Linked DNA regions of Homo sapiens: all the other regions are linked to region 1. The links are contacts of gene promoters, found by promoter capture Hi-C in blood cells and fetal thymus (Javierre and others, 2016). All regions are on one chromosome and are shown on one strand. Each heading gives the region's core, a stretch centred on a gene start or on the middle of the fragment in contact. The rest is flanking DNA. Distances are from core to core; before and after follow the strand shown. Region 1 holds the start of NEK9 (NIMA related kinase 9). Region 2 overlaps FLVCR2 (FLVCR choline and putative heme transporter 2). Region 3 overlaps FLVCR2 (FLVCR choline and putative heme transporter 2). Region 4 overlaps FLVCR2 (FLVCR choline and putative heme transporter 2). Region 5 holds the start of LOC107984653 (a long non-coding RNA gene). Region 6 overlaps BATF (basic leucine zipper ATF-like transcription factor). Region 7 overlaps JDP2 (Jun dimerization protein 2).

Region 1 (3,724 bases), core at 536-3,035:
TCTCTACATATGCAACTTAATGCTATTTGTTTACTAACAATGGTCAACTTATTTTCCTACTGAAATATAAGCTTCTAGAGAAAAAGAGTGCTTCTGAACTTTTGTAAATTCACAGATCTAATAAATATTTGGTGATATGGACAACGCTATGCAATTTTTGGGAAGTGTAATCAAATTTAACTCAAAACCAACCCAGTAATCAAGTTCAACAGGATAATAATAAAAAGGCAATGGGCAAGATGTGAGACTTTAGTTCTAGTCCAAGATTTACTTGTAACTTAAGTGAGCAAGTCACTTAAGTATACTGTTTTAGTTTCTCTAACTAAAATATAGAAATAACAATCCTTATCTCCTCTTTCTCATTTTGAGTGCAAAAAAGAAAACAGACTACTAAGAATAACTAACTCTAACATCATACATTAACGTGGCATCAGGATAAAAAAGAACACTTAAAAATATTCTCTTGCAACCACTTCTCTCCTTCTCCATCTTTCAGCCTTAAAAGTATGCTGGCTTGGAACACACACCAGAACTGCAGATGGATTTCCGACGGATGAATCACCTTCAGCAACCCCAGCAAGTTCTCATTAAATGTTTACCCTAAAGTAAGATTTTATGATCAAATCTAGTGTATCGTTAGTTTTTGGAAGTAGAATAATCACTGCAGGGTTTTACACTAGTATATATTAACTTGGGATTCCGTGATCCATGGATCTCTCCAAAGGATGTGCATATGTGCAAATGTGTTGATGGAGGGGGCAAGATTACTTTGCTTAGGTTATCAAAGGGGTCCTTGTGCCCCCCAAATTAAGAACTAATGGCTTAGAATATACCAACAAAGTATTTCCCATGCATAAACCCTGCAAGATAAACACTGATAAAGAACCAACACACAAAGATCTTCCCAATGAGCTTCAAGAAAAGCTTCCAACTGAGTGATCACTGCTGAACTTAAAGATAATGACAAAAATAACGGAGTTGCCACGGGTGTGGGGATTTTGAAGCTATGCCCCTCCTCCTCACCCCGACCTTGGAGAACTATATATACAGCATGAGAGGAAGGAAGTTTTGGCAATACCTCACATTCGTATACCACTTTAATTTACAGAACAGAGCCTTCGTTTGATTCTCAAGATAATCTTAAAAAAAAAAGAAAAAGATGATTTCAAGGTATTATCAGTAAGCCCATTTTACAGATGGGGAAACTAAAGCTCAAGAGACGGTTAGGTGACTTAGGACAATCAAAAATGACTAGTCAAACCAATGATCTAGCCAATTTCTAGTGCCGGTGAGTGGGAAGAGTGGTGAAGACCCTAAGACATATACCCCGTGGGCGCCTAAAGCACTAAGCTCACGACGCTGGGAAAGCGGGGCCGAGAAGGAGGGACTCGGGGCGACCCGACAGCGCCAGACAGGGCGGCCGGCGCCGAGGGCCGCTACCTCGGTGCGGCGGTACAGCGTGGCTTCCCCGAAGGCGCCGCGGCCCAGGACGCGGATGGGGATGTAGTGCAGTTCCTCCTGCTCCGCCGCGCCGCCGCCGGCTCGCGGCCCCTGACTGGCGCTAGGCCCCGGACTCGAGTCCCCGCAACCCCCGGACTCGCTCCCAAAGTCCGAGTTGATGGAATCGCAGTGTCGCTCGTACTCGCCCAGCACCGACATGGCGGCGGCCGCGGGCCTTGGGGACCAGCCTGCGTATGCCCGGAGGCCCTGGCCGCGCTGCGTCCCGCTCGCTTCAGATGCCGGCCCGCGGATCCGTCAGCCCAGCAACCCCGCGAAGCTCGATGGTGGCTCCTGCCCCCCGACCCGGAAACAGTTCTCTGTGTTTCCGGCCTGGCTGAGTTTCCTCCGCCTTTGCTTACCCTCTTGGCTAGTCTAGCGGCCAAGGCTTCCCGCTTTCGGGGAAGGCCTGCAAAGTGAGGCCTCGGGCTAGGGTTGGCGGGCGCGTGGTGGGAACCGCGTGGAACCGAAGGGCTCCCACGGGAACAAGGGCATCACTGACGGTACGGCCTCTCGGGTCTATTGACCCTTCTCTGCCTCCCCGGTCCGGACTCATACAACTTGGAGGCCCAGAGGTCGTCCAGTCTCATCTTGACGTCAGGTCTGTGACAAGAGGGTGATTGGGGAAGCATTCCCAGTGTACACCTTCTTCCCCATTCCAACGTTGGACAGCATTCTTTTTTAGAGAGATAGTATAGTAAAGATAATATGGCCGGGCAAGGTGGCTCACGCCTGTAATCTCAGCATGTTAGGAAGCCGAGGCGGGCGGATCACCTGAGGTCAGGCGTTTGAGACCAGCCTGACCAACTGGTGAAACCCCGTCTCTATAAAATACAAAAATTAGCCAGGCGTGGTGGCAGGCACCTGTAATCCCAGCTACTCCAGAGGCTGAGGCAGGTGAATCACTTGAACCCGGAAGGAGGAGGTTGCAGCGAGCCGAGATCGCGCACTACACTCCAGCCTGGATAACAGAGCGAGACTTTGTCTCAAAAAAAAAAAAAATAATAATAATATAGACAGCCTAAATGTCTGCCTCCGGTCATCTCGGTCCCTGGGCCGAGTTCTTTCTCCCAGGGCCATCCTAAGTCCCTCCCTCTTCTACACAACTCCAAAAATATTTTAAGTCAACTCTCCTGACACTTTCCTTCTCCCCCGTCTCTTTTTCCAGATTCAATTTATTCTATGTGTTTTTCCAGATATTTGACCATATGATATCATGAAACATTCTTTGAGCACTTGGTGCCACACACTGTTTGGGAACAGGAAATCTGCAATAATGTTCTCCCTACCGTCAAGTAGGAAAACAGCAATACGGTGAACAATAGGTGTTCCATCAGTTATGTGACCTTGGGCAATTATGTGACCTTGGGCAACTTCTCATCTCCAAGCTTGTTTTGTTGTGAGAATGTGGTCTACATCACAGACATAACAGCTAACATTTATTGAGTGTTATGTTCTGGGTACTATGCTAAAGGTTTTTTACGTATTATCTCACATTATTATGTATTATCCTATGTATTATGTATTATGTATTATCCTAACATTCCCATTTTACAGAAACAGAGGTACCTAAGTAACCTGCTTAATGTGACAGACCTAGTAAGAGGGAGCTGGGAAGTTGAACCCAGCAATCTGAAAAAGCAGGATGTGATGGGGCTAAGAGAAAGCCATGTGCCTAGCCGGGCGTGGTGGCTCACACTTGTAATCCCAGCACTTTGGGAGGGCCGATCACTTGAAGCCTGGAGTTCGAGTTCAGCCTGGCCAACATGGTGAAACCCCGTGTCCACTAAAAATACAAAAATTAGCCAGGCGTGCACACACCTGTAATCCCAGCTACTTGGGACGCTGAGGCACAAGAATTGCTTGAACTGGGGAGGCGGAGGTTGCGGTGAGCCAAGATCATGCCACTGCACTCGAGCCTGGGCAACAGAGTGAGAACCTGTCTCAAATACATAAAAATACATTGTGTCATATCGATTTGTGAAAAGTTCCTACTTTAAGAGAGCTTACATGTAACAGAAAACCACCAGGCAATTAAAACAGTTTCTATAAGGGCTATTAAAGTGCAAGATTCTAGAGAGGCATTTAGGAGTGGCATCTGTCCAAGCCAAACTTGCTGTGTGAGTGCAGGAATATACAAAATGTTAAGTCTAAACAAAGTAGAGAGATCATTTCAGGTAGAGGCCATTCCATCTACATCCTCCTATTAATTAGAAGGCACTTTGAG
Region 2 (3,724 bases), core at 333-2,832, 510 kb after region 1:
ATCAGGCTGGGCGCAGTGACTCACATCTGTAATCCCAGCACTTTGGGAGGCCGAGGCAGGAGGATTGCTTGAGTCTAGGAGCTCAAAACCAGCCTGGGCAACATGGTGAAACCCCATCTCTACAAAAAATACAAAAATTAGCTAGGCATAGTGGCACACACCTGAAGTCCCAGCTATTTGGGAGGCTGAGGTAGAAGGATCGCTTGACCCAGGAGGTGGAGGTTGCTGTGAACTGGGTTCACGCCACTGCACTCCAGCCTGGCTCAAGAAAAAAAAGAAAAGAAAATGTTTTATCGGTGTGCACATGGGTTAAAAAAAAATTAAAAGGTTTTAGTGAATGCCAGGCCACTACCCGCCCCATGGATGCCAAATCAGCAGAAGAATCTGCATTTGTAGAAAGCAGCCTGGGTGCCTCCATTCAGCAGCTGGCCTTGGAGAAAATCCTCTGGCGAACAGCAGCCCAACATCCTTCCCTTGTGATTTTCCAGTGCTCCCCGTTCACTGGGTACTCAGTTAGCACTGGCTGGCGGGGCAGCTGTTGGGCTGTACTGTACCGGGGCAGAGCAGTGTCCCCGGCTGCTCTGTCAAGGCCTCCAAAGTTCCCAGTGTCTGCAGGCAACAGACAGTGGCAGACCTGTTCTCTGCCACACAAACCCGCTTCTGTGAGGCCCTGGTCAGACCAGGTCTCATTCTGGCTGCCCTAATCAAAGGCCAATTGAGACCATCCCTAGGGAGGTGGCGACGAGGAGCCTGGCTCGGCTTAATTACTGCTGGCGGGGCTTGGCTGCCATCTCATCGCTGCCATCTGTTAGTTGCTTGCTTCAGCCAGACACAAGAGCAGTGAGGACTGGCCATCCCCAAACCACTGAATAGCAGTGACCCTTTTTCCGGGGCTTGCTCTGCGGCAGGAGGAGGGAGGGATGGGAATGCTGGCTGGGCTGGGACATGGGCAGCCGGATGATTCAGATGAATTAGAAAAGATAATGAGAGGACTGGGAAGAACACTTTCTCAGCCCTCTTCAGAACCTAGATGTCACCAGTTCCTAGCATCACGTGATGTCTAAATCCAGTGGTCAGCACAAGATATTTTTCTCCCTGTGCCACTACCCAGGCAGAGAAAAGGCAACTCCCAGTGGGATGAGAGCTCTGTGATCCCATCATTTCGGAGCCAGTCCTCGTCACTCTAAGGCTCCCAGATTTGTCTAGTTTTGTTTGGAGGTTGGAAATTGGGTGGTGAGGTCTGTTTATCTCAGACTGGGACTACAAATAGTTTTTCTAAACTGGTCAGTGGTTTAGGATGAAGCTATGGTTAAAGCTTCATCCTGGTGAGCTTGTGGGATCATCGGGCAAGACTGGCGTCCATGACGTTGCTTTCAGCAGAGTTGGTAGGAAGAGTGTGAGGGAGGAGCGTGAAGGGAGGAGGAAGCTCCTCTACCCTTAGCAGCTGCTTTGAAGCACCAGGTGGGAGCAGCATCCTTTGGAGACTCTGACCTTGAGCTTTTCCAAAGATGCAACCACATAGTGCATCGTTATTCCCGCATGCAGTAGCAGAAGGGACACAGGTTTCAAATCCAGCTTTGAGTTCACATCTCAGCTCTGCATTTATTCAGCTGGTGACTTTGGACAAGTAACTTGAGTGGCCTGAGCTTCAGTTTCTTCATTGGTAAAATGAGAAATCATCAGATATTTCTTACAGGATTTTTGTAAAGGTTGAATTGAAATAATAAATGCATGTGAAGTGCTTCACAGAATCTGGCACTCAAGAGATGGAGGGTTTCGTTTGACACAACCGTAGCGTGCCATTTGGTGCCTCCACCATGATTCTGGCTTCAGGGGTGATGTGTAAAGAAAAGCTTTAAAGATTTTGGCCAGGTGCGGTGGCTCACGCCTGTAATCCCAGCACTTTGGGAGGCGGAGGCGGGCAGATCATGAGGTCAGGAGATCGAGACCACCCTGGCTAACACAGTGAAACCCTGTCTCTACTAAACAAACTACAAAAAACATTAGCCAGGCGTGGTGGCGGGCCCCTGTAGTCCCAGCTGCTTGGGAGGCTGAGGCAGGAGAATGGTGAACCTGGGAGGCGGAGCTTGCAGTGAGCAGAGATCGTGCCACTGCACTCCAGCCTGGGTGACAGAGCAAGACTCCATCTCAAAAAAAAAAAAAAAAAGAAAGAAAAGAAAAGCTTTAAAGCTTTCATCATCTGAGTCCTGATGTTCATGGTAGGGGGGCAGAGGGATGTGCAGTGCCTATGCCCTGCCTTAGGTAGTGCAGGGAGAAGAATGCAGGTCGAATTGCAGGAGTCGGGGCTGCATCAGAGTCCTAGGTGGGCAACATGGGAAGAGAACTGCTGGAGGGGCACAGGAGGGGGTGAGACTGAAATAGAAACCAAGACTTGCTGATGGTACTCCTGAGGGGATCGACACAGGGAAATGTAACAGGGAGTGGGCGAAGATAGAGAAGGTTTCTCACATTGGCTTTGGAAGTCAAGCACTCAGTTCAGGCTGAGAGAATATTCTCTCTTAGTTCCTGCTCTCTGGAGTGGAGTAGTTCAGACTCAACAGAAAAAGCTTTGCTGGGCCAGGCGCAGTGGCTCACACCTCTAATTAGAACACTTTGGGAGGCCAAGGCGGGCAGATCACCTGAGGTCAGGAGTTTGAGACCAGCCTGGCCAACATGGCGAAACCCCATCTCTACTAGAAATACAAAAAATTAGCCACGTATGGTGGCGCATGCCTGTAATCTCAGCTACTTGGGAGGCTGAGGCAGAAGAATCGCTTGAACCCGGGAGGCAGAGGTTGCAGTGAGCTGAGATCACGCCACTGCACCCCAGCCTGTGCGACAAGAGCGAAACTCCATCTCAAAAAAAGGACAAAAGAAAAAAAAGAAAAGAAAAAGCTTTGCTGGGTCTGTTGGTCTGTTCAAGTAGGGACAGGAAGAACTTGTAGGTGACAGAGCACATTGCCCAGCATTGTCATGGGTCTTGGGATAAAGCAGACAAGCAGAATTGGACAGCTTCTGGGGTAGTCCTGAATGTCACCGCCACCTCATCATGGCTGATGTTTGTCCTGTTTTTTCTTTTTTCTGGTGAGGGATGGGAGAAGGAGAAAGGGCTTTGCCCTTCTTGTCTGTGGCTAGGACATGACAAGTCAAGGGGCAGATTGATATTGTTGAGTGGGTTCTACAGAAAGGGAACAAAGATATCGTAAGATGGCTTCATACTTTACTAGTCTTACTTACCCTTTGTAGCATTGATCATGATGTAATTAAATAATTTTTTTGTGTGATCATCATCTGTCAGTGTCCATCACCCTCATGGAGAGAAAGTTCTATGAAAGAAAATGTCCAAGAACAAGGCCAGGCCTTGGCTTTGTAAGGCCTGTAATCCCAGCACTTTAGCAGGCCAAGGCAGGTGGAGCACTTGAGGTCAGGAGTTCGATACCAGCCTGGCCAACACGGCAAAACACCGTCTCTATGAAAAATACAAAAATTAGCCAGGCGTGATGCGCACAACTGTCCCAGCTACTCAGCAGGCTGAGGCACAAGAATTGCTGGAGCCCAGGAGGTAGAGGTTTCAGCGAGCTGTGATCACGCCACTGCACTCCAGCCTGGGCAACAGAGCAAGACACTGTCTCTGAAAACAAAACAAAACTCCAAGAACATAGCAGAGGGCTTGACATGCGGCAGATACTTAATAGATGCTTGTGGAATAAATGAATGAATGAGC
Region 3 (3,724 bases), core at 319-2,818, 490 kb after region 1:
TTCTGTGGATCTCAGAGCTGGCATAGCATGTGTGTTGTGTTGTGTAATGGGTTGGGTATGGAAATCTTACCCCAGACGCAGCCTGATGATTTTCTGGTTTTATTCTTGCTCTGCCAAATGCATGAGCTAGAATCACAAGTGAGACATCATTCAAAGTATGGCTTCTCCCTGTCACCTAGGGCCCTCAGACGACATAGACATGTTTTTAACTGTGACATTTGCTCTGGAAACGTTCCTGATTACTGACATTACAGTAGCATTTAGAGGTCACCTTTGAGTTTGCAGAAAGGGTGAAAATAAAATAGAAAATGAAAATTAAATATCCCAGGCTGCCTCTCCATCCCTTCATTCATCACATTTTTTGTTAAACACCCTCTATTGGGATGAAGTAAACTATAGTTGTAAAGCTTACCTAACTTTGAAATACTGTATGTTGAAAACTCTAGCTTTGCTACCTATAGCTGTGTGACCTTGAGCAAGTCAGTTAGCCTTCCTGCATCTCAGCTTCATCATCTGTAAAATTGGGACGATGTTAGACCCCTCTTTCTGGGGTTGTTGTGAGGCTTGAGATACTCTGCATAAAGCTCATACATTTTACTATGATGAGTATTATCATGTGCCAGCCTGCAGAGATCAGTGTGAGCCCTGCCCTCATGGAGCTTATAATCTGGTTGGGAAGACAGATGTTAATTAAATGATCATACAAATATAAAATTACCTATGCAGGAACCCAACCTCATGTAAGGGATTAGAGCAACCTTCCTGAGGAAGCAGGATTTGCACTCAGACCTGAAGGATATCTGCATTGACTAGCTGAAACAGGGCAGAGAGAGATTCTAGTCCAGGTAGAGGAGCTGGTGCAAACTCCCCATGGTCACTTGAAAGACAGAAAGGAGCTCAGTGTAGCAAAGTCCTGAGGAACAAGCTGGTGACAAGGGTCAGACCATTAGACAGAGCCCATGTGCAGAACCTTGTGGGCTGTGCTTAGGATTTTTACCTCTAATTTAAAGCAAGGAGAAGTCACTGCAGGGTGTTAAGCAGGACGTTTTCCAAAGATGGCTGGCTATCATGGAAAATAGCTAGGAGCAGAGCTGCATGGAAGCTATTAGGAGGCATGAGTCATACTTTTTCAGAGGCCAGTATCTCCCCAACTCCCTTGATGAAGATGGGGATGCCTGCATATGAAAATACAGGTACCTAGGACCCACCTCAGACCTGAGGGATAAAAACGGGGTTGGTACTGGTGACGTTTGTTATGGGACAAGTTTGGGAAATACTGCTATGGGATGGGTAAAAATGAAGAGAGCCTAATTTTGAAAAGTATGTTCCAGAAGAGCTAAGACTATGACTTGGTTTGACCATGAATTTTGTATTTTGCCCATGACTTTGTGTTTTGTTGAGAATGATAAAACTAGAACAAGTGCAGGGATGTAAGTCAACTCAAAACCAGTTAGCAGTGACATTCATTCATTTGCCTTCCCAAGGTGGGTCTCCAGGAAAGATGCCAAATGCTCCATGTGCCCCGTTCTCCCACATTTTAAATTAATGTTTCACTGATTCAGGCCCCAGGTCTCTGATTTGTACCCCAGAGGTTTCCTGTCAAATGAATGACAACCCAAATGGGTGAAAATGTAGACTTCCGTGTTGACTAGTATCACACCAACATTTCATGGAAGGCAGCAAAGTGAGCCTGGGTTCTGACATCAGACAGAACTGGCTTAGGAGCCCAGCTCCTCTGCTAGCTGCCTGTGTGACCCTGGGCAGGGTGCTGAGCAGCAGGGTTTTTTTTTTTTTTTTGCCCTCTCTCTTTTTTGTTGTTACAAAGTTATTGGCGATAGGCTGGGTGCAGTGGCTCACGCCTGTAATCCCAGCGCTTTGGGAGGCCGAGGCGGGCAGATCACTTGAGGTCAGGAGTTTGAGACCAACCTGGCCAACATGGGGAAACCCTGTCTCTACTAAAAATACAAAAATTAGCCAGGCATGTTGGTGGGCACCTGTAATCCCAGCTACTTGGGAGGCTGAGGTAGGAGAATCACTTGAACCTGGGAGGCGGCAGAGGTTGCAGTGAACTGAGATCATGCCACTGCACTCCGTCCTGGTGACAGAGTGAGACCCCGTCTCAGAAAATAATAATAATTAATTAAAAATAAATAAAGTTATTGGGGTTAAATGAAAAGATAAAGTGTATTACATATTCGGCGCATAGTAGATGCTCAAGATACACTAGGGTATCCTACCCTCTCCTTACTTTCCCATACACATTTTTTTTTCTTACCACTGTGAGTACAATGTAGAAAGAACCTGGACCTTAATAGAGAGATGTGTCATTCCTAGCTTTGTGTAGACAGGATTTTCCACCAACGTTCATCTGCTCATCCATCCATCCATCCATCCATCCATCCATCCATCCATCCATCATGACTATGGAACAGACCTATATACTAGGAACTAGAAATAGACTCTCCCTAAACACTGCTCTTAAGAAGCAGGAAAAAAATATGTATTGAAAAAACAAAAGAGGAAGCAGCTTACAGTCTAATCCTGATGTTTTGGTTTTCCACACTGGGCATAAATGTACCTCCATAGCCAATTTCCTCCTTGAGAAAGGTTACCATGAGACAGTGTTGCTGCCCAGCTGGGGTTACTGTAGGCCACTGCTAAGGCCCACCCATCCAACCTGCTGCCTGGAGAAGGCTTAAAAGCCGGAGTTGGGGTGGAACAGCACTCACTCAAGCTTGGTGTATAGATGGAATGAACAGAGTCCAGCTGCCCCAGAGGAGGAGGGCATACAGTGTAGCACCAGCTGGGAGGATTTCTTTAATGGGGCAGAAGATTAACTGAGAATTAAGATATCCTGTGTTGGGACCTCAGAGCTTTAATTTTCCTTTGGAAATGAAAGAGTCACAGAGCCTCAGATGATGTCTGTATCTTTCCTCACTCTTGCAAATGGGACCCTGGGAGATTCTACTTAACTTCCAGACCTCCAACTCCAAAGTGCTTAGAAGGCCATATATGAGCTGGAGTGGGCCCAGCTTCCCAGCTATGAAGAAGGTTGCATTTGCCCCTCTGCTTGTGGCTGGTTTCTACCTTCAATTAAAGTCTTGAAGATGAGCAGTAGGAAGCCTGACTCTGACAAACCAGTATGACCAAGGATCAGCTAAAGCTCCAAGGACACAAAAGAGGCCTCTGTTCTGCAGAAGCCTGCCTGCCTGGGCCTTTCTCCAGGCTCTTAGCCTGGGATGCACTGGCCAGAGAAGCCAGGAGATCTGCTTTCTCACCTCCACTCTGCTAGAACTCTGGGTGACCCTCAACAAGTCACAGAGCTCAATTAACCTCACTTGGCCTTTGTTTTCTCCTGTAATTATTGGGTTTGTAATTATAATAAACGATTACAGATGAACTTTCAAACTGTAATATTCTATCATTTTAACCCACAAATATGGCCAGTTGTGTTATCTGTTGTATTTTTGTTTTAACATTTTTCCTGCTAACAGATTATTAAGCTCCTTGAAGGCAGAAACTCTGTCTTATACCTCTTGGTACTTTCTAAAATATCTAGCAGAGTACGTTTTAAAGATGCATTTGGTTAATTGATTACATACTGGTATAAAGAACTCTACACAGCAACTATGAGTGACCACTTTTGTGAATATTCCAGAACTGAGAACCACTAGTAAACATCTTGAATGGCTGTAATTGACAGAAGGAAAAACGAATCAAGGGG
Region 4 (3,724 bases), core at 863-3,362, 470 kb after region 1:
CTTCCTATACAGCCTGCAGAACTGGGAGCAAATTAAACCTCTTTTCTTTATCAATTACGCAGTCTCCAATATTCCTTCATAGCAATGTGAGAATGGAATAATACACTTGTTTCAGCATCAACTCAAATGTCCAAAGTCCAAAACTGCATCTGAAACTCAAGGCACATACTTTCCAGGTATGAGCTTATAAACTCTAAAACAAGTTGTTTACTTCCAATATACAACGGTTGCACAGGCATTGGGTAAAATTACCATTCAAACATAGGGTCTTGCTCTTTCACCCAGGCTGGACTGCTGTGGTGAGTTCTTGGCTCACTGCAATTTCTGCCACCTGGGCACAAGTGATCCTCCCACCTCAGCCTGCCAAGTAGCTGGAACCACAGGCCATGTCACCACACCCAGTAATTTTTGTATTTTTTTGTAGAGACGGAGTTTCGCCATGTTGCCCATAGTGGTCTCGAATGCCTGCACTCTAGTGATCCTACCACCTTGGCCTCTCAGAGTGCCTGGATTACAGGCATGAGCCACACCAAGCCCTGGCCAGCAGACTTTAAATCTTAAACCTCCAGAATAATCTCCTTTGGATCAATGTTTTGCATCCTGGGCACACTAGTGCCAGGAGGGGGTTCCCAATGCCTCAGGCAGCCCTTTCCCCATGGCTTTGCTGGACATAGCCCACATGGCTGTACTCACAGGTTGGAATCACATGGCTTTGCTGGACATAGCCCACATGGCTGTACTCACAGGTTGGAATCAAATGCCTGAAGCTTAGCCAGGCTGAGGTCACATGCTGCCAGTGACTTTAGCATTTTGGGGTCCTTGCGGTGGCCCTACTCTTGTGGCTCCACTAGGCATTGTCCTAGTGAAGACTCTTTGCAGAAGAGTCCTCTGCTGTGGCCTCACATTTCTGCTTGGCATTGTCTTAGCAGAGGCTGTCTGTGGTGGCTCCCCCACATGGCAGGTTTCTGCCTAGGCTCCCAGGCTCTCTTTTTCTCTTCATTCCTTTTTTTTTTTTTTTTTTTTTTTTTGACAAAGGGTCTTACTCTGTCACCCAGGCTGGAGTGCAGTGGTGTGATCACAGCTCACTGTACCTTGACCTCTGAGGCTCAATCAATCTTCCAGCCTCAGCCTCCCAAGTAGCTGGGACTACAGGCATGCACCACTGCACCTGGTTAATTTTGTTTCTTTTTTGTTTTTGTTTTTGTTTTGTAGAGATGAGGTCTTGCCATTTTGCCCAGGCTGTTCTTGAACTCCTGAACTCAAGTGATCCACCCACCTCATCCTCCTAAAGAGTTGGGATTTCAAGCATGAGCCACTGTGCCTGGCCTGCTCCCAGGCTTGCTGATACATCATCTGAAATCTAGGTGGAAGCTGCCATGCCCACCACTCTTGCATTCCACATGCATGAACAATAGTACCATGTGGACATGGATGCCACCAAGACCCACAGCTTGCACTCTCCAGAGCAGTGGCCCAAGCTGTACCTGGGGCTATTGGGCCATGGCTGCTCTGGCCAGAGCAGCTAGGAGAAGCATCCTGAGGTGGCTCAGGGCAGTGGTATCCCACCATTCTGTCCTCCTAGGCCTCTGGGTCTGTGACAGGAGGAATGGCCTTAGACTTTTGAAATACTTTCAGGGCCTTTTTTCCATTGTTCTGTTAGTACCTGGCTCCCTTCTGTCAGAACTAATCTCTTTAGCAAAAGGTCCCTTGGCTGCACCCTTAGATTCCTCTTCTGAAAATGTTCTTTCATTCTCTACCACTTGGCCAGGCTGCAAATTTTCTAAATTTTAATGCTCTGCTTCTTACACATTTCACCTTTAGGTCACTCCTTTGCTGTGTTTAAGCTGTCAAAGTAACCACACTGTGTCTTGAGCATTTTGCTGCTTAGAAATTTTTCTGCCTAGGCCGGGCATGGTGGCTCATGCCTGTAATCACAGCACTTTGGGAGGCCGAGGTGGGCGGATCACCTGAGGTCAGGAGTTCGAGACTAGCCTGGCCAACATGGTGAAACCCCACCTTTAAAAAGAAAAAAAAAAAGAAATTTCTCCTGCCAGATGCCCTAGGTTATCATTTTTAAGTTTGGTATTTTATAAAGCCCTAAGGCATGGACACAATGCAGCCAAGTTCTTTGCTGTGGCATAACATGGGTGACCTTTGTTCTAGTTTCCAAATAAACGCTACTTTCCTTCATCAGAATGGCCTTTACTGTCCATATTTCTATCAGCATTTTGGTCATAACCATCTAACCAATCTCTGAGAAGTTCCAAACGTTCCCTCATCTTTTTGTCTTTTTCTGAGCCCTCATCAAAATTACTCTTAATGCCCTGTTCACAGCAATTCAGGTGTTTTCTAGCCTATTTCTTCAAACTCCTCCAACTTCTGCCCGTTACCCAGTTCCAAAGCTGCTTCTGCATTTTTAGGTATCTTTATGGCACAACCCCACTCCTTGGTACAAATTGTCTGTCTTAGATCATTTTGTGTTGTTATAACAGAATACCTGAAACTGGGTCATTTATAAAGAAAAGGTGTATTTACCTCACTGTTCTGTAGGCTGGGACATTCAAGGGCGTGCCTGCAGCCTGCAGGGGGTTGTAGCTCTCATGCTACATTATAACATGACAGAGAAGGTTAAAGGGCAAGTGGACACGTGCAAAGAGGCAAACCCAAGGGATCTCTTGGCTTTAAAACAACCCACTATCATGGGAACTCACCCATTTCTGCAGGAACTAATCTAGTCTTGCGAGAGTGAGAATCTGCTTCCATGAGATCAGCTGGTGGAGGATCCTCCCCCATGATCCAAATGCCTCCCACTAAGCCTCACCTCCCAACACCACCCCATTGGGGATAAAATTTCAACATAAGTTTAAGAGGGGACAAACTCAGATCATATCCGAACCATAGCACTTGTCCTCAAGGCCCCAGCCTGCTTAGACAATCTCTGAAATGTCTTCAGGGTTTTTCTCTCATTGTCTTGATGAATAGGCCTGGTTGCCTTCTGTCTACTAATTTTTTTAGCAAATGATTTCTTGGCCACGCCCTTGGTTTTTCTCCTACGGACACTTTTTCAGTCTACATGGCCAGCCTTCAGATTTCCCAAATCTTTCTGCTCTGCTTTCTTTTTCATTACTAATTCCACCTTTTAGTCATTTCTCTCCTCTCATGTTTTACTATATGTGCTTCAAAGTAGCAATACAGCTCCTTCAATATTTTGCTTAGAAATTTCTTTCACCAGATATCCTAGTTCATCACTCTTAAGTTCTGTCTTCCACAAATTCCTAAGACACTGACAGAATTCTGCCAAGTTCTTTGCAAGTAGATAACAAGAATGGCTTTTACTCCAGTTTCCAATACCTTGTTCCTCATTTCCATCTGACACCTCATCAGAATGGTCTTTACTGTCTATAACTGTCTATATTTCTACCAACATTCTGATTAGGACCACCTAAGTAATCCCTGAGAAGCTTTAGGCTCTTCTTAAAGTTCTTTTTTCATCTGAGCCCTCTCCAGAATTCCCCTTAATACTCCATTCATGGCAGACTTTTCTCTCCTGATCCTCCAAATTCTTCCACCTTCTACCCATTTCCAGTTCAAAAACCACTTCCACATTTTCAGGTATTTGTTATGGCATCAGACTACTTCATGGTATCAATTTTCTGTCTTAGTCAGTTTTATGCTACTATCACAGAATACCACAGACTGGGTAATTCGCATTGAACAGAAATTA
Region 5 (3,724 bases), core at 615-3,114, 430 kb after region 1:
ATCTTTTTTTTTTTTTTTTTTTGAGACATGGTCTTGTTCTGTCACCCAAGCTAAAGTGCATGGCTCACTGCAGCCTCAAACTCCTGGGCTCAAGCAATCCTACCACCTCAACCTCCTGAATAGCTGGGACTACCAGTGAGTGCCACCATGCCTGGCTAATTTTGTGTGTGTGTGTGTGTGTGTGTGTGTGTGTGTTTTCAATAGAGATAGGGTTTCACCATGTTGCTCAGTCTTGTCTTGAACTCCTGGACTCAAGTGATCCACCTGCCTTGGCCTCCCAAAGTGCTGGGATTGCAGGTGTGAGTCACTGCACCCAGCCAAAAGCATCTTATCTTCTTTCTCTATCTTGTGGCATGTGAAGATACTGATACTAAACTTTGCCAATCATCTTTCAACTTGCAGCCATACACATAGGTACCCATTCCTAGGGATCAGCTCTTCATATCTGGGCCATGGGAGCTGTGAAATTAGATTGCGAGTCACATTAGCACCACGTCAATCCTCTCCACCCCAACCACCATTAGCACATCTTCTCTAAGTGAAGTCAGCATTATTCACATAAAATGTTATCCATTGACTACTGGTGCACAGTGTGATTGGGGTTTATGAGTTACTCGGGGTGATTATATGATGAAGACTCAATTCTTAGTGGGGGCGCTGGAGACCTTGCACCCTCTGTCCCCCAGCTCACTTCATATCACCCTCTTTTCCTCTGCACTGGCATCTGTCCCTTCCCCAAATCTCTGCGTGCTCCCTCCAGCCCAAGAGCCTTGCTCATTCTGCTCAGCCCTAACTGAAATGCTCTTACCCTTCTAGCTCATTCATTCCTACCTTTTGTCAAATACCAGCTTGGGGAAATTTTGCTTGATTCCCAGGCTAGATCAGAACTGCAATTTCAAATAGTTTCATAGCACCTCATGCCCTTCCTTTATACCCATTAACACAGACTGAAAATTTACATTTATCTATGTGGTTATTTGGTTAACATTTGTCTCTGTGACTGGACCATCCATTCTATAATGTCAGGGATTGCCAATGTTTTGCTCACCATTGTATTCTCAGCTCCTTGCACAGTAGCAAAGAGCCTACCACAGAGTAGAAATTCAATAAATATTCATTGGCTGAATGAATAAATGGATGGATGGATGGAACACAGTGCCTGCCTTCTAGGAATGTAAAATCCAAGCCAATTATTATTCTGACGATGGAATACAAATGACAAAATAAATATTCAGTTAACATATAAAAAGTAAGAATCAATCAGATATTTTAAGAGCAGGAATCAAGGGAAGGCATGTATTCTTGTGAAGATGGTAGAGATTAGGGATAGAGTCCCAGGTGGGGCTGGAAGAGGCGAGGGCAGGGAACTGTGTCTCCTCAGTCACAGTGTTATCTAGCTTTTAGTCTGTGTCTAGCTGTCACCTATTAGACAGAGGGAAAGACCAGGATCAAAGTAAAAGCAAGTTGGAATCCTGCACAAGGCCCTGTAGAAATAGATTAGCCCCAGTCCACCCTCATCGCCTATTTTCTATTACTCCAAATCCTGCTTCCATGGTAATGGAAGCTGGTTGGCCTGCCTTGCTGGTGGTTCATGCCTCTACACCCTACAAACACGAACACAACCTACGTACTGCTGTAATTGAATACCACAGACTCAGTAATTTACAAAGAAATGAAATTTATTTCTCACAACTCTGGAGGCTGGCCAGTCCAAGAGCATGGCACCAGTATCTGGCCAGGGTCATCCCATGGCAGAAGGGTGGAAGGCAGAAGTGAGCACATGAGACAGAGAGGGGAGCAGACCAAACTCCACCTTTTTATCAGGAACCCACTCCTGCAACAACCAACTCATTCCTGTGATAATGGCGTTAATCTATTCATGAGAGTGGAGCCCTCATGAGCTAATCACCTCTTAAAGGTCCTGCCTCTCAACACTGTTTCAATGGCAATTAAATTTCAGTATGAGTTTTGGAGGGCACATTCAAACCGAAGTGGCTCCAACCCCACATTTTCACTTGGGATTGCCCTAGTGGGGACTCTCTGAGGTGACCGTTCCCCTGAAGCAGATTTCTACTTGAGCTTCCAGGTGATCCATGACATCCTTTGAAATCTAAGCAGAGGAAGCCATGCTTCTATAGCCCTTGCATTTTGCATCCTTGCAGACTTAACACCAAATGTTTGCCATCAAGGTTTACCACCTATTCTTTCTGGAGCACCCAGGCTGCTTGAGCCACAGCTGGGAGGGCTGAGAGGCACTGTGCTGAAATTCAGGGAGCAGAGAGAGAGAGTTTCACTTTGTCACCCAGCCTGGAGTGCAGTGGCATGATTATAACTCACTGCAGCCTCGAACTCCTGGGCTCAAGGGATCCTCCTTCCTCAGCCTTCCAAGTAACTGGGACTACACATGCCACCACACCCAGCTAATTAAATTTTTTTTTTTTTTTTTAGAGATGAAGTTTCACTACATTGCCCAGGCTAGTGTTGAACTCCTAACCTCAAGTGATCCTCCTGCCTCAGCCTCCTGAGTTGCTGGGATTACAGGTGTGAATCACCATGCCCAGCTTGGGTAATTTGTAGGGAAAAAAAATTATTTCTCATAGTTCTGGAGGCTGGGAAATCCAAGAGCATGGCGCCAGCATCTGGCAAGTGTTATCCCATGGCAGAAGGGTGGAAGGTGGAAGCAAGCACATGAGACAGAAAGGGAAGTGAGCCAAACTCGTCTTTTTTATTGGGAACCCACTCCAAAGATAAACCCGCTTCTGTGACAATGACATTAATCGAGGGACCCATTAATCCATGAGGGCTCTGTCCTCATGACCGAATCACTTCTTAAAGGCCCCGCTTCTCAACTCTGTTACAATGGCAATTAAATTTCAACACGAGTTTTGGAGGAGACATTTAAACCACAGCAATCATTGAGAGAAGATGACAGAGACCAGATATCTACTTACATCGTGCCCAAAACCCCCAGTGGTGACTCATGGTGGACAGTTAAATGGCTGTCCAGATAGGCCATTCACTAACCCATGAGTGAGGGCAGAGACTATCTGTGTCTTGTTTACTGCTATATTCCTAGTGCCCAGCAGAGCAGATATGTGATATTTATAGGTTTGATAAATGAATTAATTAATCATAAATATAAATAATTCATTCATTCATATATTCTCAAGCCTTGTCTACTTCAGGTTGAGAATTTTGAGTTTGGACTGTGACTAAATTACCTATGGCTCCCTCAAAGGTTTGTGTCTCATTGTTTATCCCCAGGGGGTGGGGGAACAAGTCCATAAGAGCCCTAAATGCCCAGGAAGCAGGACTGACTGGGATGATCTGGTGGCCTCAGGAAGGTCACTGCACTACTATAATGGGGATCTAGTTCTGTCTGGGTCTAAAACCTGGGGCTGAAGGCAAGATGTCACGGAATTGTGACCTAGAGCTGAGATGCACCTGATTACAGTGACCCCCACACACTTTTTTTTTTGCTACCCAGAATCCATTTCTTCTCCTTCTCCTTCTTCTCCTCCTCCTCCTCTTCGTCCTCCTCCTCCTCCCCTTTCTCCTCCTCCTCCTCCTCCCCTTTCTCCTCCTCCTCCTCCCCTTTCTCCTCCTCCTCCTCCTCTTTCTCCTTCTTCGAGATGGAGTCTCACTCTGTCACCCAGGCTAGAGTGCAGTGGAGTAATCTCGGCTCACTGCAACCTCCAACTCCCGGGTTCAAGTGATTCTTCTG
Region 6 (3,724 bases), core at 616-3,115, 410 kb after region 1:
AATTAGCCAGGCGTGGTAGCTTGCACCCAGCTACTTTAGAGGCTGAGGTGGGAAGATCACTTGAGCCCAGGAGGTTGAGGCTGCAGTGAGCCCTGATTACATCACTGCACTCTGGACTGGGTAATAGAGTGAGACCCTGTGTCAACAAAAAGGATGAGATCTCAATATGTGTAAATGAAAACAGCTGTATTAAGGGACTAGGATCATGGGCGTTTTTAACTTTTAAAAAATATCTTTAATGTAGTTATACTGTATTTTTTTATTTTTAAAGAAACAGAAGAAAATGGCCAAATAGAGAGCTGAAGGAACTCTGGAGGACATCAAGTACAAAGAGACAATATTACTGAGCTCGAATTTGGGGATCAGGTTTTGGTAGGAGACCTTATAATTTATACCCCAAATAGGAATACTTCGAGAGTGGAAGATGGAACTTGTAAATATTACACCAGGAAAACAGGTGTCCCAGTAAATGTCTGGTCACCCTAGACAGGGAAACCAAGAAAGATGACATGAAGCTCTTATGAAAACTCAGAAGTGATAAAGTTCAGAGTCAAGTAGAGGGGACTGGATTCCTATGACCAAAATGTGATTTCCTGCAACTGAGGACCCTGTAACTAAAAAAGGGTACTCAGCTGGCATAAGAATATGTCTTATCATTAAGAGAGTAGGATGACACAGAAAATTATAAAGCAAAGGCCATATTATCAGTACTAGAGCTGAGATCAGCGGAAGTGATTCATCTACTCAACAAATATTTATCAGCCAGGAACAGTTCGTTCTAGGCACTGAGAATATTGCAGGGACAGGACAGACAGAGTCTCTGATTTCACGAACCTTACAGTCAGTTGGAAGTCAGGCTGGAAAACAAATAAACACACTAATCACATGACATGTAAAGTGCTTCAAAGAAGATGAAATCATGCAATGTGGAAAGTGTCTAAGGGACGGGATTGGGGCAGCGATCAGGGGAGGCCTTCCTGAGGCCCTGGAATTTGAGATCAAAGGTGAATCAAAGAGGAGACTGGAAAGATCTGGGGAGAGGGTGATCTCAGCCTAGAGAGCCTTGAGGCCAAGCTGCGAGGCCAGGCAAAGGTCAGAAAGGTGCTTGGTAAGGTGGAGACCAAGTTCAAGACCATAAGGGAGTGAGGAGGAACTCAGTAATAATGGCAATTGTAGGGCTGAGCACAGTGGCTCACACCTGTAATCCCAGCACTTTGGGAGGCCGAGTTGGTTGGATCATTTGAGGCCAGGAGTTCGAGACCAGCCTGAGCAACACAGTGAAACCCCATCTCTACAAAAAAAAATTTTTTTTAAATATCCAGGCATGCACCTATGGTCCCACCTACTTGGGAGGCTGAGGCGGGAGATTTGCTTAAGTCCAAGAGGTCGAGGTTGCAGTGAGTTGTGATAGCACCACTGCACTCCAGCCTGGGCAACAGGGCAAGATCCTGTCTTTAAAATAAAATAAAATAAAATAAAATAAAATAAAATAAAGGCAATTGTGCTGCTAGGAGCAGGAACTGGATGGGGCATGTGGTGGGGACCCAACTAATTCAAACCCTGCCTGGGGGATTTCTCTGAACCTAAACTCTGATCATAAGTTGAGAAGCAATAGCACCTCACTAGGCTGTTTGACCGTTTAATTGAGAGGGCAAATGTAAGAACAAAGCAATATTGTCATTTTTTTTTTACACTGTTCCTTTGTTTAATGCAGACAGCCTGCCCTTTTCCTAGAAATCAATCAGATATATTATCCTACATGAACACACACGTTCTTCTTTCTGGTTGCTTATAAACTCTTTAAGGATATCAGTAGTTTCAGGGGCTTGGCCTTTCACAACTAGGCAAGTCTCCTTTGTTGGGTATGAATGGAGAGAGGGTCAAATTTGAACTAGGGAAATGGCACGACGAAGTTCTTAAAGTGGTTGTAATTCTGCCACTCCCACGCTGTTGGTTCAGTTTGGGGAATAAACAGAGGTTTGACCTAGGCCTTTTGAAAAAATGAATCTCTTGGATTCATTTGGAAGTATCCCAGATTTACAAAGTAGAAGCTATTAAAGTGTTTGAGTGGTGGTTAATCACTCTCTAGGAATTCTCATGGACATCACAGATTTACTCAGCTGACCCTTCTTCATAGGCACATCTCAGATTTTGGAAAATTATTCCAGATTATAAGTTGGCAGTCAAGCAACGTGATTTGATCGAACACTTACTCTATGGCAGGCACTGTCCTTGTCACTGAGAACAAAACAGTGAAGACAATAATAGCTCCTGCCCTCACAGAGCTCAACAATGTAAATGGTAAGGAAACGAAACGGTTAAAGTTATAATTAATGAAACACGAATAGATCCCTGAGCTCTTGCCTTTCCATTATATGAATGAACTGTGCTGGACTATTTAGAATTGTTTCCACCAATTTAAGAATATAATAGTAGTGTGCTTAAATGGACATTTTGTTTTAGAAATTTTTTTAACTAGAAATAGTCTCCCAACTCTTTAAATTTTTTAATATTATACTATAAATGATAAAATAAAATACATATTTAATAAAATGAAAATATGTAAAAATATAAACTCTTTAAGGATATCAGTAGTTTCAGGGGCTTGGCCTTTCACAACTGGGCAAGTCTCACAAATTTAATTTGTTTGTTAACAAACAAATTTAATAAAATCAAACACTATATAGTTATGTTATATTTTTATTATTTTGAGATAAGGTTTCACTCTTTTCCCAGGCTGGAGTGCAGTGGTGCGATCATGGCTGACTGCAGCCTCCACCTCCCAGGCACAAATGATCCTCCCACCTTGGCCTCCCAAATAGCTGGGACTACAGGTGTGTGCCACTATGCCTGGTTAACTTTTAAATTTTTTGTAAAGATTGGGTATCACTATGTTGCCCAGGCTGGTCTCAAACTTCCGGGCTCAAATGACCCTCCTGCCAAAGAAGCCTCCCAAAGTGCTAGGATTACAGCAACTGCACCTGGCCTTATGTTATTATTAAAAGGAATCCACTATGAACATGATTTTTTGCCCATTTGGCTCACTTAGGAAGCATTTTTAAAGTCTTGATGCCTGCAACCACTCCAGAACAATTAAATTGGAACCTCTGGGGGTCTGGCATCCAGGAATCCAGACTGTTTAAGGCTCTCCGGGTGCTGGCAGTGTGCACAGCCAGGGTTGAGAATCAGAAGCAGTACATTTGCAGCCTATCAGGTCTGTACCTGAATATGTGGAGTGAGTAGAATGTGTGGAGTGAGCAGAATGTGTGGAGTGAGTGTGGGGCAATTGTGTGGGTAAGTACACAGATACTCTGTCACATACAGTGGCCTGATGGCTTAAAACAAAACAAACGGCCAGGTGCGGTGGCTCACGCCTGTAATCCCAACACTTTGGGAGCCCGAGGCGGGTGGATCACGAGGTCAGGAGATCGAGACCATCCTGGCTAACACGGTGAAACCATGTCTCTACTAAAAATACAAAAAATTAGCCGGGCATGGTGGCGGGTGCCCGTAGTCCCAGCTACTAGGGAGGCTGAGGCAGGAGAATGGCATGAACCCGGGAGGCGGAGCTTGCAATGAGCCGAGATCGTGCCACTGCACTCCAGCCTGGGCGACAGAGCGAGACACGGTCTCAAAAAACAAACAAACAAACAAACAAACTATTCAAACCCTTGCTTTGATGGCAGTTATTATTTGTTTTGTTGTTTGGTTTTGAACATTGATA
Region 7 (3,724 bases), core at 364-2,863, 310 kb after region 1:
GAATACATGTTGCCTATGATTGGGTCAAGCATTGCCTTCAAAATAAAAAAGGCAGACACTTCTGGCAGTGCCAAGGGTGACCTTGGTGTGAGTTAATTGAGCAACTTTTCCTCTATAACAGGAAGGACTTTACGGCAGGAAGAGCAGCTGGGTGGGAAAGGGATTCAGGGGAACATTGGTGAAAGAAGCCACAGTCCTGGCAAGACGAGGGACTTGAGCCCTCCTGGAGCCCCCAACCTGGCTGACTGTCCTGCTCTTTTCCTGCCCACTCCAGGCTGGCCTGCCACTCCTCCTGCTATGATGCCTGGGCAGATCCCGGACCCTTCGGTGACCACAGGCTCCCTGCCAGGGCTTGGCCCCCTGACCGGGCTCCCCAGCTCGGCCCTGACTGTGGAGGAGCTGAAATACGCTGACATCCGCAACCTCGGGGCCATGATTGCACCCTTGCACTTCCTGGAGGTGAAACTGGGCAAGAGGCCCCAGCCCGTGAAAAGTGAGGTGAGCGAGCCTTTTACCCCTGGCAGATTCCAGGTCTGGCCTTAAACCCACCATGGGACCTTAACCTTGCTGTTCAAAGTGTGGTCTGAGGACCAGTATCATCCGTACCACCCTGGGGTTATCAGAAATGTGGAATCCCAGGCCTCGCCCCAGGCCTTCTGTATCAGAATCTGCATCTTAACAAGATCCCCCAGGGATTCGTGGACGTATTAACACTTGAGAAGCACTGGGCCAGGGGAGGATGTTTAACCTGTCTCTGGTTCTCTGGGGGGCGGTGGAAGAGTGATAATAATGACAGTAATGAATAGTAATATCTTGGCCATCTCTCTGGGGTGGTGGGAGGATTGGGGAGATAATGGGAATGGGAATGTGTACATGTTTTGAAAAGTAGACAAGAGAATGCCAATATTAGGTTATCTTTTAAAATTGTTATCATTAGTCACATCGTGACCTCCACCCCTCTTGGCCCTTTCTGCAGCTGAACCAGGGAACTTGGAGGAAGAGTAGCGTGGCCTCCCTTCCCAAGCAGCTGCCAGAGCTAGGCATGGCCTCGGTCAGCCAGCAGTGTCCGCCTTAGATGGCGTTTGCCCGGGACCCACACGTGGAGCACCCACATGTGGCATTTGCAAGGAATTCCTCCTCAGGTCCCTTGCACCTGCAGCTCTCATGAGCCCTTTTTCTCGGGGCACTGGTGAGCAGCAGCAGTCCCCGGCATGGCTGAGGATCTGTGCAGGGCATGCCCCCGGCGACTTGCCCAGGGCTGGCCGTTTCTCTGAAGGCCTGTCCCAGCAAGGTTCCCAGCAGCGCCGTTTCTTCAGAGGCCTGCCAGAGTAGCTGCCCCCTGGAAAGGAGGAGCCTGTGGTGGGAGGTGGGGAAGAGGCTGGGATCGGGAGGGCGCAGGAAGCAGCTGAGCATCTGGGAATGGTAGCTCTGCTTGGAGGGAGAGTTCACAGGCAAAGATGAGCCTGGGGGGAGCTCGGAGGGCTGAAGTGCTGGAAGTGCTGGAGAGAGGACTTTCTTCGTGGAGAAGGGTGTCTGGGTACCCGTAGGGGAGAGCTGGGGATATTAGGCAACTATCTCTCAGCTCCCCTTCTCCTGATAGGTACCTAAAAACTGCAGAGGACTGCTGGGGGCTTGGCTGTGGTGGCAAACTGGCCGTGGTGGCAAACTGGCCATTTGCAGGCTGGACCTGGCTCTCAGATGTATTTTGTTTGGCCGGCTCAGTGTTTTAAAAGAAACGCGAACCCCCATTTCATTTGAAAATTTTGATTAAAAAATTGTAAGATCTCATCATACACTACCCTGTTCTGGCATGGTAATGGCTAAGTGGGGTGGACAGAGGCACTTCACTGTTTCCTCTTTCCAGTGGGCCACAGGCCCCTGCACCTCCCTGTTATTCGTGATCCTACTTACATTGTTGGTTTTGCTTTTGCTACTACCATCTGCCTTCATTTACCTCTACTGCCTGGTCCCTGTTAGCCATTTGTGCTCAAGACACGTGGATAAGGTCCATCATAGGTGCCTACTAAAGACTGTGGATTACAAGCTGTGAGTTGATGGTGATTACATTCTTCTGAATTGATCTTGTAAGCCAATGTGTCGTTGGGGCACATCCCGGCTTATATAGTGTTCTGTCTTCACGATGGAGGGTCCTTGTCTTTTGGCCCTCTGCTCCTCACCTTCCCAGGTCTGTAACTTGAGAGCATCTGTTTCTGGATCATTCCACAGTAAAATTGCCATTTAGAGCCAGTAGCTGAGCAGTTTCATGGGGGCACTAAGGCTGCGCATGGGGTTGATGAAGAGCCAGGTGTCTTGGGCAGAGGTCGTCAAGCTGGGATTCGCCTGGGGGGCTGAGTTAACACCTCTCTCCTCTGCAAAAGGCACTGGAGGAACTCTTCCCTTTTTTTATTTTTTATTTTTGGAAAAGCCACTTTTATTTGGGTTGGGTATTTTTACATTTTACAGCCACCCCCAAATTGGTGGCATCTGCCCTGTACCCGACAGTGACGTGCTGTCCTCACAGGCACCCACAGACGTGCACCATCCAGGCCGCAAAAATAACAAGCCGTTTTTAGGGCATATTTGCATGTCCTCTCCCTCGCTGTCAGACTGCAGTGTTGTGGGGGCGAAGAGGCAGATGGAGCTGCGAGATTGTACCGATGTAGAGAGATGCCAGCCCTGCACTGCGAACCGACCTCCAAATGCTTCCTAGGTCAGACCCCAGGGGCGGGAAGAGCTAATTCTTGGAGTAACTAAAACCTAAAGCGGGGTGGGGAAAGAAACTTGCAGCTGAAGAATCTATGGTCTGAAGATCTATTTGCATATGGCAAACTGCCTTGAGCGGATTTTCATATTGGCATTTTAGACTAGTAAAAGTTTCTTTAATAATAATCAGATACTAGCTCATTAAGCATTTAATATGTCCCAGGACCTGCACAAAGTGCTTAACATGCATGACTTCATTCATTCCTTATTCAGTCCTGGAGTCCAGGTTACCCCCATAGTAGAGAAGAGTTTGAGGTCTAGGGAGGGGGTTCAGTCACTCAGGGTCACACTGCTGGGAAGTGATAGCGCTGGGGCCTGGTGTGGTGGACGATGGCTGCCGTTACAGCCGGGTCTCACTTGTGCTGAGCTAAGCCCTAGGCACGGTACTAGGTCTCTTTGTGAAGTACCTTGTTTACCCTGCACAAGTACCCTCTGAAGTAACTAGTGTTGTTGCTGTTGTTATACCCACATTACAGATGAGGTCAACAAGGCTGAGGGAGGTCCAAGGTCACTGGCTGGGAAATGAGCTCAGGCAGTCTGCCTTGAGCCCAAGCTTTAACCACATGCCGTGTGGCCTCCCATGCCTCTATACCCCTTCCAGGCTTCTAACCAGAGCTCTGTTGAGCTGGGGAGGCTGGATGAACCTGGCCGCAGAATGTTCGATCATTTTGATGACATTGTCTGATGAGTGCTGAGCCCTGCAGTCCTGCAGCCTTACTGTCTCCTAGTTCCGAGAGAGAGAGAGAGGGAGAGAGAGAGAGAGAGCGAGAGAGCGAGCCGGCTGAGCCGCTGTGCGGGCAGCTCTGTCAGAGCTGGTTCTTGGGTTGTTTGCCTTGCAGAGGCCAGCAGTCTCCTGGGCTCTGTCCAAACGCATGGAGCAATTCAGTAAAAGAAAATGGGAGGAATTAAGTTCAACGACAGGTTTTGTGAATTATAAAGTGCTTTGTGCTGATGTCATTAT

What was found. Contacts are between HindIII fragments. The CHiCAGO score rates a contact against its expected background, and 5 or more counts as called.
Region 2: a contact is called between a fragment that was not itself captured here and the fragment with the promoter of NEK9 in region 1, in 1 of 17 cell types (activated CD4 T cells). The highest score is 10.5, in activated CD4 T cells.
Region 3: a fragment that was not itself captured here is called in contact with the fragment with the promoter of NEK9 in region 1 in 1 of 17 cell types (monocytes); the score reaches 8.2 in monocytes.
Region 4: a contact is called between a fragment that was not itself captured here and the fragment with the promoter of NEK9 in region 1, in 1 of 17 cell types (activated CD4 T cells). The highest score is 6.1, in activated CD4 T cells.
Region 5: a contact is called between a fragment that was not itself captured here and the fragment with the promoter of NEK9 in region 1, in 17 of 17 cell types (activated CD4 T cells, neutrophils, M2 macrophages and 14 more). The highest score is 20.1, in activated CD4 T cells.
Region 6: a contact is called between a fragment that was not itself captured here and the fragment with the promoter of NEK9 in region 1, in 15 of 17 cell types (activated CD4 T cells, neutrophils, naive CD4 T cells and 12 more). The highest score is 12.7, in activated CD4 T cells.
Region 7: a contact is called between a fragment that was not itself captured here and the fragment with the promoter of NEK9 in region 1, in 10 of 17 cell types (monocytes, neutrophils, M0 macrophages and 7 more). The highest score is 23.0, in monocytes.

What each region holds. Positions count from the first base shown.
Region 1 is chr14:75,125,263-75,128,986 of GRCh38, forward strand. It overlaps NEK9 (NIMA related kinase 9), which reads right to left and starts at 1,786. Exons shown (of 22, transcript NM_033116.6): 1 at 1,441-1,786. The coding sequence starts at 1,659. RefSeq lists enhancers at 1,650-1,699, 1,710-1,839. The HindIII fragment of the contact is 1,961 bases long and covers 923-2,883 here.
Region 2 is chr14:75,635,579-75,639,302 of GRCh38, forward strand. All of the region lies in intron 5 of FLVCR2 (FLVCR choline and putative heme transporter 2), which reads left to right. Among named protein-coding and RNA genes, the nearest start is that of ERG28, 23 kb to the right of the region's middle. The HindIII fragment of the contact is 538 bases long and covers 1,314-1,851 here.
Region 3 is chr14:75,617,105-75,620,828 of GRCh38, forward strand. All of the region lies in intron 1 of FLVCR2 (FLVCR choline and putative heme transporter 2), which reads left to right. Among named protein-coding and RNA genes, the nearest start is that of FLVCR2-AS1, 39 kb to the left of the region's middle. The HindIII fragment of the contact is 2,327 bases long and covers 406-2,732 here.
Region 4 is chr14:75,590,804-75,594,527 of GRCh38, forward strand. All of the region lies in intron 1 of FLVCR2 (FLVCR choline and putative heme transporter 2), which reads left to right. Among named protein-coding and RNA genes, the nearest start is that of FLVCR2-AS1, 13 kb to the left of the region's middle. The HindIII fragment of the contact is 2,694 bases long and covers 766-3,459 here.
Region 5 is chr14:75,555,666-75,559,389 of GRCh38, forward strand. It overlaps LOC107984653 (a long non-coding RNA gene), which reads left to right and starts at 2,506. Exons shown (of 2, transcript XR_001750830.1): 1 at 2,506-2,541. The HindIII fragment of the contact is 4,794 bases long and covers 1-3,724 here.
Region 6 is chr14:75,535,268-75,538,991 of GRCh38, forward strand. All of the region lies in intron 2 of BATF (basic leucine zipper ATF-like transcription factor), which reads left to right. Among named protein-coding and RNA genes, the nearest start is that of BATF, 15 kb to the left of the region's middle. RefSeq lists a silencer at 3,373-3,587. The HindIII fragment of the contact is 5,692 bases long and covers 1-3,724 here.
Region 7 is chr14:75,437,624-75,441,347 of GRCh38, forward strand. JDP2 (Jun dimerization protein 2) reads left to right here. Exons shown (of 4, transcript NM_001135048.2): 2 at 275-498. The coding sequence starts at 298. Among named protein-coding and RNA genes, the nearest start is that of JDP2, 11 kb to the left of the region's middle. RefSeq lists enhancers at 1-323, 1,331-1,833, 2,673-2,882, 3,037-3,724 and a silencer at 3,073-3,122. The HindIII fragment of the contact is 3,402 bases long and covers 1-3,314 here.